Linked DNA regions of Homo sapiens: region 1 is linked to region 2. Evidence: promoter capture Hi-C in 16 types of primary human blood cells and fetal thymus (Javierre and others, 2016). All regions are on one chromosome and are shown on one strand. Each heading gives the region's core, a stretch centred on a gene start or on the middle of the fragment in contact. The rest is flanking DNA. Distances are from core to core; before and after follow the strand shown.

Evidence for each region. Contacts are between HindIII fragments. The CHiCAGO score rates a contact against its expected background, and 5 or more counts as called.
Region 1: a contact is called between the fragment with the promoter of SPATA41 here and the fragment with the promoter of LYSMD4 in region 2, in 1 of 17 cell types (non-activated CD4 T cells). The highest score is 6.9, in non-activated CD4 T cells.

The regions. Positions count from the first base shown.
Region 1 is chr15:100,349,422-100,352,735 of GRCh38, forward strand. SPATA41 (spermatogenesis associated 41) reads right to left here and starts at 1,297. Exons shown (of 2, transcript NR_028139.1): 1 at 1-1,297. It overlaps LOC105371021 (a long non-coding RNA gene), which reads left to right and starts at 185. Exons shown (of 3, transcript XR_007064777.1): 1 at 185-261; 2 at 954-1,524; 3 at 2,258-2,723. RefSeq lists an enhancer at 465-724. The HindIII fragment of the contact is 2,620 bases long and covers 1-1,617 here.
Region 2 is chr15:99,731,761-99,734,738 of GRCh38, forward strand. It overlaps LYSMD4 (LysM domain containing 4), which reads right to left and starts at 1,677. Exons shown (of 3, transcript NM_001284417.2): 1 at 1,585-1,677; 2 at 1-247. The coding sequence starts at 239. RefSeq lists silencers at 1,127-1,236, 1,277-2,006. The HindIII fragment of the contact is 4,446 bases long and covers 636-2,978 here.

The sequences.
Region 1 (3,314 bases), core at 47-2,546, 620 kb after region 2:
TTGTTGTCGTCGTTGAAACCACCCAGCCCGAAAGCAGCATGGGCTGTGCCCAGAGCCGCCGTGCCAGAAGCCCACGCTTAGAAATAGAGGGCCGAAGACCAAAGAGGACTGCGGGTTCTTGGGCCAAACGTGACCCTCTCAAATCCCCCAACTCGGGGATTTCGTTAGCTGGGGACTGGTGTGCCCGGGTTCCAAGACCCCTGCGTAGACTCTGTCTATAGGTGGAAGAAGGCCTTTGCCCCGAGGCATCCAGAGGTAACGGTGAGAGGAACAAGGGCACGTGGGGGATCCCACCACAGCCTCCCCTGAGACCCTCTTCACGCTGGTTGCAGGAGTAGCCAACCCCGCTCCCTGGCAGCCCGTGAGATGCCACATCCCCTCCAGCAGGGGGCGGCCGGCATCGGTCCCGTCTTCCTAAACCGGCGTTGGTGGGAAATGCCGGCACCAGCTCCCTCCCCGCTCCAGAGCCCTGTTTTCCCCATTTGTATTTCACTACTTTCCTGTTGAGCTTGGATTCCAGCCTCAAATTCCGCGATTTGGCCGGCATCCTAATCCCCGAGTGACTCTTGCCAACCACTCTCTGTGGGGCCTGTGTGCTTCCTCCTGGGTTCTGGGGCGCTGGCGGCGTCCGCTTCACCGGGAACGGGAGCCCCAGCCTCCCGAGGCCTTCCTGCCTGGCTCTGGGAATGGCCACTGTCCAGAAAGCCCCGCGGCCGTCCATGCTCGCTCGCTCAGTCAGGCCCTTGTGGGGATATTGCAGAACGAGTCCGAGTTACTATCCCTTTAAATACAGGCGTTTCGGCCTAGCTGCCGCCGGTCCAATCCGCAGCGCTTCCGTGCCCCACTTTCCCGCGTCAGCCTGGCTCCGGCCTCCACCAGGGGGTGCTAGTGAGATCCCAGCCAGCCTCAGAGCTGAGCGTCCAGGGCCTTCAAATGTCCCCATCCTTGAAAAGGCAACTCCAGTGGCATCTTCTGCGGGGAGACCAGAAGCAGCATCTGACGAGGAGACAGCACTGGCGGTCCCGACACAACTGAATCGGCAGGATGAGGGCCCTTAGTGTTAGGCACCGGCGGAGCTGCATCCCACCCCGTCTCGTCCCCTGAGAACAGCTGTGAGAAGCCGCCTATTTTTCATCGTTCTGCAACACACCTTTCCCTTCCTTGGGATATTTCTCCTCTTTCAGCATTGCCGCATCAGGGTTCCAAAGCCCCGTTTCTCTCCTAGTTCTTTCTTTGCTCAAGAAAAGCAGCTTGTCTGATAAACTAAGCTATGTATGATTCGCTGCCAGTACAGACTGAAAAACAAAATAAACTCCCAATTCACAGTCCTCCGTTGCGTAACAGTGAGCAGACGTTCTGAGAAATGCATCGTCAGGCAATTGCATCATTGTGCAAACAATATAGAGTGTACTTACCCAAACCTAAACAGCACAGCCTACTACACACCCAGGCTGTAGGCTGTGCTTCTAGACTACAAACCTGTACAGTGTGGTACTGAACACTGTAGGCAACTGTAACACAATGGTAAGTATTTGTGTATCTAAACATAGAAAAGATACAGTAAAAATATGGTATGAAAGATTGAAACTGGTGCACCTGCCTAGGGCACCTACCGTAAGCTTGGAGCTTACGGGACTGAAAGTTGCTCTGGGTGAGTCAGTAAGTGAGTGGTGAGTAAATACGAAGGCCTAGGACATTACTGTACACTACTGTAGACTTTAAAACCCTGTACACTAGGCCCACACTCAATTTATTTTTAAAAATTTTCTTTCCTTCAATAATATATTCACTTTAGCTTACTGTAACTTTTCTACCTTAAGAATTTTTAAATTTTTTGACTCTTTTAATAACAGCTTGAATACACAAACACATTGTACAGCTATACAAAAATATTTTCATTCTTCATATCCTTATTCTATAAGCTTTTTTCCTACTTTTGAAGTTGTTTATTTTTTACATTTTAAACTTTTTGTCAAATATTAAGACACAAACACACATTAGCCTAGGCCTATACAGGGTCAGGATCATCAATACCACTGTCTTCTGCTTTCACATCTTGTCCCACTGGAAGGTCTTCAATGGTAATAACACACATTCTTAGTAAATGCAAATAGTCATGGCTCAGACTGATATAGTAATGATAGACTATTCAATATGTGGTATTGGACAGCTGTTTATATATTTGTACGAACCTAAGTTAGATTCTGTGGTGGTTCAAAAATATATCCTCTAATTATGACCTGCTTCCCTTCAACAGGTGTACCTAATTCCTCTGCCTAGAAAGTGTGCTGGAATTACTGCCTGGCTTCTGATGAATAGGGCGTATTGAGAGTGATGCTTTGTGAGTTCTGAGGCTAGGTCATAGAAAGGATTGAACTTATTCCTGAATGTTGCTCTTGGATCACTTGCTTTTTTGGGAACCACCAGCCATGTCATGAGGACACTCAAGCAACCCTGCAGAGAAGCACATGTGTGGAGAGGCACTTCTTGGAAAGGAGGCCAACTTGCCAGAACCAACTAATTTGTCATGTGAGTGAGTCATTTTGGAAGCAGATCCTCTACCCTCAGTCAGGCCTTCCGATGATTTCAGCCCCCAGCCTTTGAGTCTGCCCCAAACACCATGAGTAGAGACAAGCCCTTCCCACTGTGTCCACCCTGGCTGAATTCCAGACCGTTAAAAAAACAAGAGAAAATAAATTATTATTAGTGTTTTGAGTCACTAAGTTTTGGACTAATTTGTTATGCAGCAATAGCTAACAACTACAGAGTCATAACACAAACTAAAATTAATTCTAAGGCATGTTAAAGATTTATATGAAAGCATTCATCTAATGGAGGTGTGCAAGAAGTGGCTATAAAAAATTTAGGGCACCCAAAAGCAACCTGTAGGCTGAGCAGGGTAAGTACATCTGCAAGAGCAGCCAGATGGCTAGTTGGTCCCTGTGTGCAGCCTCTCTACCCACCCATGGTATAGGTCCAGGAATGGAACTGTTTAGCTTCCCTAGGAAACAATGAATGTGGTGCTTGCATTGTGTTGCTGACACCATCAGAGAGGAAATGGAAGTCCCAGTGTCCAGAAGCTAAACAGAAACACACACACACAAAAGACAGAAGGAAAGAAAAAAAGGGCCAAAATATCCCACAACAAAGGGAAATATAGTCATGATACATGCTTAACTTCAGAAAAGACTTATATAATAATTATATCAAAATCATAATGTAAACACTGTGCAATGATTTTCAACTTTTAGAATCAACCAAAAAGAAATAGCAGAATATATCATCCCGGCTGCAGAATCAATTGTAAAAGTTGT
Region 2 (2,978 bases), core at 427-2,926:
TGGGCCAGCTCCCGCTGCAGCAGCACCACGTCACCTGCTCCCGCCTGGGGAGGCTGGTGGACACCGCTCTTGTGGCGCTCCTTGCCCCGGGGCCGCAAAACCACACGGTGAGACTCTTCTTCAGAAGAGTCCCCCGAGTCCCCACTGCCATTCTTAAACATGTATACGTGGCTGGTCGGAGTCCCACACACAACAGCTGGGCCTTGGAAGGTCTTGGTTAACAATTCCTCGTGCCTCATTTTCTTCACTGAAAATCAAGCCGGAGGGTTAATTCCACAGAAGACATAATCATCCCTCCACCGCCTCGTTTAAAGAGAAGTGTCTTGTTAGAGAGTATTCCTTTTCCTAATCGCTGCAAATACTCAGCATACATCATCAACAGAAAAAAAAGAATGTGCTTATGCTGGCTGAGATGGAAGAAGATAGGCAGAATAAAAACCCTTTGTTTTTTCTAATCGCATACGTTTTGTGCAGAAAACGAACCCCGCCCCTGTTCCTCATCCATAGCTGTCTCCCCTAAACCCACATCTGTAAAGAAACAACTACTTTTGCTCTCAGAGTAGTAAGTTGAGATCCTTGCAATGGCAAGTAAGGGCTGCCGCCAGCCTCCGCGCACTCAGAATCTTCAACTCAGAAGCTTTGCACAATAATTTTGTATTCAATATTTTACACATTGCAAAGTATCTTCACTAAGAAGGTCAGCGCTAAGGACTCTTGCTCAGAACTGTGGGGCTAAACTGCTCTTACTTTGACACAGTTTAACTCACAGTATGTGGGGCAAGCTACGGGGAGAACTCATGCCTGTCAGCCGGAGAAAAGCGTCCAGTTTGCTCACGGGTCACTTTGCATTCATTACATCCCCATTGTCTGGTTTTTATTTTCCCCTTGAGTCAACAGCCAAAGCCGCAAGACCCCTGTTCCTCTCTCCAGATTGTTCGCGTGAGATTCCAGAAACGAAATCTCAAACACGCGGGCTGACAACTTCAGAAAAAGGTGGCTTCGGAGCCACAGGGGAGCAGCCCGTACGGGGACAGCCTGCGGCCCCAGCTCGACCCCCTACTCCCCGCCCACGCCTTCGAGGGTCACAGGCCCACACCCCGCTCCGCGCGCTCCTGAGCCTGCCCGGAGGCGGGAGGCGGCCGGCGGTCCTCGGGGGGTTGAGGGTCACCTGCAGGACCACGGCGGCAGCCCGGGGACGGGGCCAGCCTTCGCGTCCGAGCTCAGGGGCGGCGGCAGCAGCTCCAGGCCCGCTTCCCTCCAAGTCCCTTCTGCGAAAAGATGGGGCACCTCAACAAGAGCTGACAGGAAAATGGGGAGCGGCCCGGCCCCAGGGCTCCACGGCTCCACGGGCGGGGCCCTAACATTCCAGAGGGCAGAACCTCTGACCTCTGACCCCCAACCCTAGCCACCTGGGGCCAGCCCACGACAGTCGCGGTCACCGCCCCTCCAGCTGGAGCGTCCCCCTAGGAGCCCGGGGAGGGGCGGCCCGCCCGCGAACCCTCGAGCGAGGCCAGGTCGCCGTACCGCCATGAGCCCGCGCGGCTCCCTAGCCAGACCGCGGCCCCCTCGTCCAGGCCCCGGTACCTCAGCGCCCAGGCTCCGCCGCGACCGGCGACCGGCGACTCGCGACCCGCGACCCGCGACCCGCAGCTGCCACCGCGCCTGCGGATTGGCTACGAACATCAGCAGGGCCCCCCTGGGGGCGGGACTGGGGAGGCAGCCAATGAAGTCAGCGCTGGGCGGGCACTGGAGCGAGCCTGGCTGCGCGGAGAGCTCATCCCGGGACCACAGGGCCCGGGGCGGGGCTCGGGGCGGGGCTCGGGGCGGGGCTCGACAGGGTTCCACACCCCGGAAGTGGCCCTCGCCCCGCCCACCCGCCTACCAGGTCTACCCGCGCGGGCCCTGGCTTGTTTTCGCGTCTGTTCGGAGTAATAAGGCACCTCAGCTCCTCCCTCCCAAAGTGCTTGGCTTTCTGCTGAGCCGCAGCTTTCTCGCCCGTAAAGAGGCCTTTGACCCCACTTGTGGGTAATGATCTGTAGCTGTGACTCGGGGTGGATTCCAGTAGCGTGGGGTCCCCTGAGCCCTCCTGCGGGGAAGGGCTGGGCGCAGATGGGCGAGGGGTCTTTCTGCGGCGGGATCTGCGCTCCTGGGCCTTTGAGGGCCGCACCAGGGGAGGCATTGCCCCACCCCGAGAAGAAAACAGAAATCCACGAGTGTAAAACATGGATGCGGACAACAGGGACCAAGAAAACTTAAGTCGTGTTTATCAAATGTCAGGTGGCCGAGGATTTCTTAAGATGAAAAGTGGTGGAAGAATTCTCACACACTGGCCGGGCGCGGTGGCTCACGCCCGTAATCCCAGCACTTTGGGAGGCCGAGGCTGGTGGATCACGAGGTCAGGAGTTCGAGACCAGCCTGGCCAAGATGGTGAAACCCCGTCTCTACTAAAAAAATAAAAATAAAAAAAAATAAAAAAGTTAGCCGGGCATGGTGGCGGGCGCCTGTAATCCCAGCTACTCAGGAGGCTGAGACAGAGGATTGCTTGAACCCGGAGGCGGAGGTTGCAGTGAGCCGAGATCGTGCCACTGCACTCCAGCCTGGGCAACAGAGGGAGACTCCATCTCAAAAAAAAACAAAAACAAAAACCTCACACACTAAGGCACAAAGTTCAGAGCTTCTACTTAAAAAGGAAAACCAAAATTAAAAAGCAGATAACCTAGGGAAAATAAACTGAACACAACAAAGGATTAAAATCCTTCGCTGAGAGAGACTTCATATGAATAGGAAAGATGCTAAGACCTCAGCAGGTCTGAGGGAGACCTCAGAGAGACAGGAGCAGATAATTCAGCAAACAATGCAAATGGTCAACAGGTTGAAAATGTTTTTAACCCTCACTTGCAATCAGATTAAACAACAAAGCAAACATTAAAACAAGATCTCACAAACCTTTTCCCACTAATAGGATTTGACTGTGTCCA